Regions from separate parts of the Homo sapiens genome. Here all the other regions are linked to region 1. Evidence: promoter capture Hi-C in human tissues and cell types (Jung and others, 2019). All regions are on one chromosome and are shown on one strand. The core of a region is centred on a gene start or on the middle of the fragment in contact, and the rest is flanking DNA. Distances in the headings are between cores, read along the strand shown. Region 1 holds the start of PTCH2 (patched 2). Region 2 has its middle 16 kb from the start of ZSWIM5. Region 3 overlaps ZSWIM5 (zinc finger SWIM-type containing 5).

Evidence for each region. Contacts are between HindIII fragments. The study calls those that stand out against the background at their distance.
Region 2: a fragment that was not itself captured here is called in contact with the fragment with the promoter of PTCH2 in region 1 in 1 of the 25 tissues and cell types used here (adrenal gland).
Region 3: a contact is called between a fragment that was not itself captured here and the fragment with the promoter of PTCH2 in region 1, in 1 of the 25 tissues and cell types used here (liver).

Annotation. Positions count from the first base shown.
Region 1 is chr1:44,841,856-44,844,640 of GRCh38, forward strand. It overlaps PTCH2 (patched 2), which reads right to left and starts at 1,398. Exons shown (of 22, transcript NM_003738.5): 1 at 1,006-1,398; 2 at 1-184. The coding sequence starts at 1,077. RefSeq lists a silencer at 1,344-1,613. The HindIII fragment of the contact is 15,143 bases long and covers 1-2,785 here.
Region 2 is chr1:45,221,126-45,223,910 of GRCh38, forward strand. No RefSeq gene overlaps it. Among named protein-coding and RNA genes, the nearest start is that of ZSWIM5, 16 kb to the left of the region's middle. RefSeq lists an enhancer at 2,176-2,785. The HindIII fragment of the contact is 7,307 bases long and covers 1-2,785 here.
Region 3 is chr1:45,192,361-45,195,145 of GRCh38, forward strand. The region is part of intron 1 of ZSWIM5 (zinc finger SWIM-type containing 5); the gene reads right to left. Among named protein-coding and RNA genes, the nearest start is that of ZSWIM5, 13 kb to the right of the region's middle. The HindIII fragment of the contact is 4,871 bases long and covers 1-2,785 here.

The DNA of each region.
Region 1 (2,785 bases), core at 148-2,647:
AGAGCTGTTCCAAGTTTGTCTCAATAATGGCCATGCGGAGACCTAATGCCAGGGCCCCAAAGGCCAACAGTCCCAGAAAGAGCACTTTGCCACAATGTCTCTGGATCCCGCATCCCAGAGAGAAGAGCAGGCCCTGGAAGTAAGCACGAAGCCAGAGTGGAGCCTTCAGGCTCCCAGCTAGGATCTGGGATGGAAAGAGAAGGGTCAGCCAGGCATCACTGCAACAATGCATGAAATCCTTCCCTTCTCACCCTGTATATCTGCTGCCCAGCCCTCGCTTCTTGATTTCTGGATGTGGGACAGGGAGCACCAACACAGACACAGGCCCAGACTTGGAAGATGTAACACCCACCATCCCCAGCACACACCTGAGGAAGGCATAGGCCTATTTTCCTTTCTTTTCTTTTTGTTTTCTCTCCTTTTTTTTTTTTTTTTTTTTTTTGAGACGCAGTCTCGCTCTGTTGCCCTGGCTGGAGTGCAGTGGTGTGATCTCGGCTGACTGCAACCTCCGCCTCCCAGGTTCAAGAGATTCTCCTGCCTCAGCCTCCCGAGTAGTTGGGACTACAGGCGCCCGCCACCACGCCCTGCTAATTTTTTATTTTTAGTAGAGACAGAGTTTCCCCATGTTGGCCTGGCTGGTCTCGAACTCCTGACCTCAGGTAATCTGCCTGCCTCAGCCTCCCAGTGTTGGGATTACAGGCGTGAGTCACCGCGCCCGGCCGGCATAGGCCCATTTTCTGAGAGCAGGATACATATGTACACACACCTGTCGTCGGGTGGACACAGAGGTGAACCCACAGACATTCATTCTCACTGGCCAGACGATGAGGAGACACCGGCACAGACACACCGACACACACGCACAACTTGCTTGCGGTGCTGGCTCTCACTTGCCTTCAGACATCTAATGACACTCGGCACTTCAAGACATCACAAACCTTGCAGAGGCCCGAGTGACAGACCTGGCTCCGCTCTCTTCCTTCTTCCAGCTCCCCCTCTACTCACCTGGGGTGCTGCGGTTCGAGCTGGGGGTGTGTAACTCGGGGGCAGCTCTCTGAGGGGCGGCGATCGAGTCATGCTGGCGGGGATGGGGGGCGCGGGCGCCCCCAACCCGCGTTATCTGGGCGCTCCCATAGGCTAGCCCGGTCTCCCGGTACCGCTGGGCCCCGCGTAGGGATTCAGTGGGGCCGCCAAGGCGCGGGCGTGGGAGAGACTGTGGGGTGTGGGTGTTAAAGCGGCTGGGAGGGAGGAGTGCAGGGAGCTGCGGGTCCGGGGCGCGGCGCCGGGATTCACCCGCTCCGTGGGCCGTGGGCCGCGGCGGCTGGAGGAGGAATGGGTCCCGCGCGCAGGCGGAATTGCTGGCCCGAGACGCACAGCAGGGCTCGAGGTGGCAACTGCAGTCCCCGGGAGGCGGCTGGAGCTCCAGAAAAGGGAGCTGGCCGGGGCGACGCCCTCCCATTGGCTGAGGGGCCCGCAAATTACCCTAGCCGCGCGGCCCGGCCCGCTGCTAGGTAACGGCGCCGCAGGGGGCGGGGCGGGAGACCACCCAGGCTGGGCCACCCCGCGCCTCCCTCCCGCCCGCGGGGCCCCAGGGAGGAGGAGGGAGGGGGATCCCGGAGAGGCGCAGCGCCGGCCAAGTGTAAGTCCAGAGGCTTACGCTGAGAAAGGGCCTTTGCGGGCTCTGTTAGGGATACACTTTTTTTTTTTTTTTTAAGACGGGGTCTCACTCTGTCACCCAGGCTGGAGTGCAGTGGCTCCATCTCGGCTTGCAGGCTCCGCCTTCCAGGCTCAAGCCATCCTCCCACCTCAGCCTCCCGAGTAGCTGGGATCACAGGCATGCACCACCACGCCCGGCTTTTTGTATTTTTGGTAGAGAACGGGTTTCGCCATGTTGCCCCGGTTGGTCTCAGACTCCCGAGCTCAGGATATCCGCCCGCCTCAGCCTCCCAAAGTGTTGGGATGACAAGCGTGAGCCACCGCGCCCGGCCTAGGGCCACAATTTCTTTTTCTTTTCTTTTTTTTTTTTTTCAGGCTTAATTCACTTTATTTTTCTTGTATAAAAACCCTATGTTGTAGCCACAGCTGGAGCCTGGATCCTCTGCGCGGAGACTCTGGTGTGGGTCTTGACGAGGTGGTCAGTGAATTCCTGATAGGGAGACTTGGTGAATACAGTCTCCTTCCAGAGGTCGGGGGTCAGGTAGCAGTAGGTCTTAGAGATGGCATCAAAGTGGGTAGGGCCACACTTTCTTTCCGACCCAATCAAAGCCCAAGATTTCTTCTGTTCACTCTTCCCGGCTTCCATTCTTGCCCTCTTCAGTCCACTCTCTCCACTGAGACCAGAGTCATTTCTCTAACATGCAAATCTGATAGCTCCAAAGCACAAGGCCCACTTGGAGCACAGGGCCCTGTGTGATCTAGCTAAAGCCTTCTCTCCCATAGTTCCCTCACATCAGTGTTCCCTCGTTCCTGCCTTTGTACATGTTTTGGTCCTTTTGTCTTGGCAGATAATCTTCAAAAACTGAACTTGAATCACCCCCAAAACCCACCTTTTTTTTTTTTTTTTTGAGGCAGGATCTCCCTCTGTTGCCCAGGTTGGAGTGCAGTGGTGCCTTCACAGCACACTGCAGCCTTGAGCTCCCAGTCTCAAGGGATCCTCCCACCTCGACCTCCCAAATGGCTGGGACTACAGGTGTGCACCACCACACCTAGCTAATTTTTGTAATTTTGTATAGACAGGGTTTTGCCATGTTGCCCAGGTTGGTCTCAAACTCCTGGGCTCAGGTCA
Region 2 (2,785 bases), core at 86-2,585, 380 kb after region 1:
AAAGAGGAGGTAGAAATATGGCAGTAGCATGAAAATGGTGTGGAGAGGACAGAAAATAATGGCAATGAGAATGGTTCCATGGATATTTCAATGGGTTAGGAGAAGAATGTTAAAGCAGATTTAAGAACTATTTGGGAGGTGGACTAAGCAGACCTGGAGCAATAAAGAAGCTTTGATGAAAAATAAAGAAAGTAGAAAGTGGTTTCAAATCTTTAACTTGGACTATGTAGTAAAAGTTGAAGTCAATAACCAAAATAGAAAATTCAGGAGTAGCAGATTTCAAGGAAAGAATGATGAGTTCACTTTTGGGACATGTTAGGCTTGAGGTACTTGTGAGAAATCCAAGTGTAAATTGGTCTGAAGCCTAGGAGAATAACTTAGGACAAAGAAGAATTTGGTTAGGGTTAGGGTAAGAGCTGGGATCTTACAGAAAAAGTTAAGATCACCCAGAACAAGTATATAGAGTTGAGGGTGGGGAGGCAGGGAGGAACTAGGATGAAACCAAGTGACCACCAATAATTGAGGGGTAGACATACAGGGAGAAGCAACAAAAGAGACTGAGTCATACAAGAAGTGGAGAGTGTGGTCATACAAGCCCAGTGAGGACTGGAATTTAAGAAGGAAAAGCAAAACAAGGGAACAAGGAAAGAACAAAAGCCTTAGAAGAGTCCCACTACTAAGCTAAGACTCAGACCTCTTTGGAGAGGGAGTAGCTGCCTCAGGAACAAGATGCCTTCAGTTAGTGAAAGAACTTGCCGAATGTTGCTGACCAGAGCTGGCTCATAGGACTGACTCACCAGAGGGAGGAAAAACTTGCCGGACCATGTAGGCAGCTGGATCTGCTTTGTAGGGGCACCCCACTGGCTGATGGAAAAACTTGCTGAAGGACGCAGGTTGGCCGTAGCTGGTCAGTAAAAGCAACCTGCTAGGTAGCAGAGAAATATGCTAAAGGATGCAGGGCAAAGCTGGCTGCTGAGGAGAGCAATACCAGGCCTCCTTCATGATGTCAAAAACCAGCTCAGTGGAACCAGGAAATGAAGTATCTTTCTTCTTCTATGGCCTTGCAGTGTTTCTCCAGAACTCCCTATTGACAAGACTAATATCAAGCAGCTGACAAAGTAAACCTGTTTACAGGGTCCATCTCCAATATTAAATAGCATGGCAAAGAAGGGTACATTTGGATCTGAGAAGCAATAAATTAATAAATGGCACAATTCATCCCTTTGGCTTCCATATGCACCCATTTACACACATTCAAACTTCCATACAACAATAAAACAACTCTATGTTTCTACCTAAAAAGATTCGGTTAAACTTTATATAAGTGAATTTCTCACCAACTCCACAAAATGAGGAGACACATAGTCCGGTCATTATATCCATCATTAGTTATACTAATGACGCAAAAGGAACAGCAGTTTTTGCATTGTTGGAATTTGCCTTTTGATATTGGGATACACTCTCAAATAAATGTGGTTATGTTATACATTATTTTAATGGACACTCTCGCTTTATTTATTTATTTATTTATTTTGCTGATGACATTACTTGCTGTTTATTTTATGTTTATTTTAGACTATGGAAATGATGTTAGACAAAAAGCAAATTTGAGCAATTTTCCTATTCAAGTTCAAAAATGTCGTAAAGCAGCAGAGACAACTTGCAACAATGCATTTAGCCCAGGAGCTGCTAACGCTAATGAACGTACAATGCAGTGGTGGTTCAAGAAGTTTTGCAAAGGAGACAAGAGCCTTGAAGATGAGGAGCACAGTGGCTGGCCATTGGGAGTTGATAATGACCAAAAGAGCGCAAACATCGAAGCTGATCCTCTTACAACTACACAATAAGTTGCCGAAGAAGGCCGCCCCTACTGGGAAGTGAGGAGCCCCTCTGCCTGGCCAGCCGCCCCGTCCGGGAGGGAGGTGGGGGGGTCAGCCCCCTGCCCGGCCAGCCGCCCTGTCCGGGAGGGAGGTGGGGGGGTCAGCCCCCCGCCCGGCCGGCCGCCCCGTCCGGGAGGTGAGGGGCGCCTCTGCCCGGCCGCCCCTACTGGGAAGTGAGGACCCCTCTGCCTGGCCAGCCGCCCCGTCCGGGAGGGTGGGGGGGGGGGGGTCAGCCCCCCGCCCGGCCAGCCGCCCCGTCCGGGAGGTGAGGGGCGCTTCTGCCCGGCCGCCCCTACTGGGAAGTGAGGAGCCCCTCTGCCCGGCCACGACCCCGTCTGGGAGGTGTGCCCAGCGGCTCATTGGGGATGGGCCATGATGACAATGGCGGTTTTGTGGAATAGAAAGGCGGGAAGAGTGGGGAAAAAATTGAGAAATCGGATGGTTGCCGGGTCTATGTGGATAGAAGTGGACATGGGAGACTTTTCATTTTGTTCTGTACTAAGAAAAATTCTTCTGCCTTGGGATCCTGTTGATCTGTGACCTTATCCCCAACCCTGTGCTCTCTGAAACATGTGCTGTGTCCACTCAGGGTTAAATGGATTAAGGGCGGTGCAAGATGTGCTTTGTTAAACAGATGCTTGAAGGCAGCATGCTCGTTAAGAGTCATCACCACTCCCTAATCTTAAGTACCCAGGGACACAAACACTGCAGAAGGCCGCAGGGTCCTCTGCCTAGGAAAACCAGAGACCTTTGTTCACTTGTTTATCTACTGACCTTCCCTCCACTATTGTCCTATGACCCTGCCAAATCCCCCTCTGCGAGAAACACCCAAGAATGATCAATAAAAAAAATAAATAAATAAATAAATAAATAAATAAATAAATAAATAAAAGTTGCCGAAGAAA
Region 3 (2,785 bases), core at 187-2,686, 350 kb after region 1:
TAAGTGGAATCATATAATGTTTGTCCTTTGGTGTCTGGCTTATTCACTTAGCATAATCTTTAACATTCATCCATGTTGTAGCATGTATTAGGATTTCCTTCCTTTTCAGGGCTAAATAACATTTCCTGTAGATAGAAAGACAGAGAAAGGAAGGAAGGAAGGAAGGAAAATAGACCTTTTGTTTATCCATTCATCTGTCGATGGACACTTGGGTTGTTTCCATCTTCTGCCTATTGTGAATAATGCTGCTATAAAACATGGTTGTATAAATATCTATTCAATTCCCTGCTTTCAATTATTTTGGTTATACAACCAGAAGCAGAATTTCTGGTTCATATGGTTATTCTGTGTTTAATTTTTTTAGGAACTGCCATACTGTTTTCTACAAAAGCTACACCATTTTATATTTCCAAATGGTTCCAACTTCTCCACATCCTTGCCAACATTTGTTATTTTCTGGCTTTTTAAAAAAATAATAACCATCCTAATGGGTGTGAAGTAGTATTTCATTGTGGTTTTGATTTTCATTACTCTAATAATTAGTGCTGTTGAGCATCTTTTCTTGTGCTTATTGGTCATCTGTACATTGTCTCTGGAGAAATGTTTATTCAAGTCCTTTCCCATTTTTGAATTAGGTTTTTTCTTGTGGCTGAGTTGTAGTTCTTTAATATATTCTGGATATTAATCCCCTTATCAAGCAGTTCGGTTTTGAGTGGCTATTAAGATATCCACTTAGAAATATCTGGCAGGCAAATATATATGCTGATCTTTGGATTATTTGGAAGTGCTTCAGAGTTTCAAAGGGAAGAAGTAGCTGGCCATACTGATTAAGTTCTGGTCTCCACCCCAATCCCCAACACAGCTCAGATTTTATCTGCTGCAAAAGCTGGAATTCCAGCATAAGATTTCCTTTGAAAGTTAGAGTACAGTTGCTTTAAACAAATTTTAAACCACTACATCATATCATGCTATCTTATGTTCATAAAATTGTAGTTGAAACTGTAGAAATAAATTAGATTGTAAATTAGAAGACTTGATATAAGAAGGCGCATCCTACTATTGTGGGGTAAGAGAATAAAAGAAAACAGAAAGAAAGCCAGAATGGTGAAGTAAAACAAAAATCTAGGAAGAAGCATTTCAAGAGAAATGTATAGTAGACTACAGAAAATTCTATACAGAGGTCATGAAGAATGAGGACTAGAAAAAAGATACTGTGTTTGGCAATCATGAGGTCACTAGCGACCTTTAAGAGATCAATTTTAATTTAGTGAATGAAAGCATAAGTCAGACTACAAAACCTTTAGAAGGTGGAGTGAAGGTTGAGGGAGGGAAGATAAATACAGAATACTCTCAATTTTGGTAAAAGCTGTAATAATAATAGTGAATATTTACATAGCACTTAATATGTGTTCAGCCTCATTCTAAGTGCTTTACATATTAACTAATTTAATTCTCAAAACAACCTATGAAGTAGGTACCATCATTTTGCCCTTTTACAGTTGAAAAAACTGAGACTTTGAAGGAGCCAGAATTACATATTTGTGATAGTACGTATGTGTACATATGTGTGCATATGTGTATATATATATATATATACATACATGCACATATGGTAGATAAATCCAAATACATGTGATGGTAAAGACTACAATAATATAATATTCAGTGAGACAAAAATAAGAGTTTTTCACAATAGGGAGCCATAATGTGGGGAAGGATTTTATATTACTAATAACATCAATGTATGTTGGTGATGTTGGCTACTCATATCAGTTAGCAGGTATTGACAGATTTAAACAAAATAAGAACAAGCTGGCTTTTCCAGAATCTATCAGTGCTACAGGCCTCTATTCAATAAAACCATGAATGAATAGGGGGAAAAATGTAATTATCTCCAAGGCTTTCAAAGACACAATAGATTTTCCTGTTGCTCACAGACCAAAAGATAATGGAAGCACAAAAAGCTATTTTCCTGATTAGTTCCATTGTATGTTTATACCTAAAAGAAGCAACAATTTTTTTTAACAAAAAAGGTAAGGATTATCTGAAGATAACAAAAAGCTATTTTAAAGCCAGAAATCTGTAAAGTTTACTCTCAGAAAAAAGGATTAATATTTGGTAACATCTTGTCATCTTCCTTCCTACTAATATTACCCCTTTGGATCAACTATGCACCAAAGTATTACGGGGCATAAAAAATGTTAATACAGAAAGAATTTTATTAAAGCTTAATCTGGCCAGGCGCGGTGGCTCACACCTGTAATCCCAGCACTTTGGGAGGCCGAGGTGGGCGGATCACGAGGTCAGGAGATCGAGACCATCCTGGCTAACACAGTGAAACCCTGTTTCTACTAAAAATACAAAAAATCAGCCAGGCGTGGTGGCGGGCATCTGTAGTCCCAGCTACTCGGGAGGCTGAGGCAGGAGAATGGTGTGAACCCAGGAGGCGGAGCTTGCAGTGAGCCGAGATTGCACCACTGCACACCAGCCTGGGCAACAGAGCAAGACTCCGTCTCAAAAAAAAAAAAAGAGGTTAATCTAACTTGTAAGCAGTAAAGTGTTTTCAATCTTTATTGCAATATTAGACATAATTCTAAAATTTCTTATAATTGGAATTATATTAAAATAGAGCAATGTATCCTGTAGTCCCCACTTCCCAAGTTAATCACTTCCTACTCTCTTCCCCCATAGTAACTTCTTCTATTATTACAGAACATTGTGGTAAATGCCATTTTATCTATTCAGACCCTTAACTGATTTAATAGAAAATTTTTAAACGCCATTT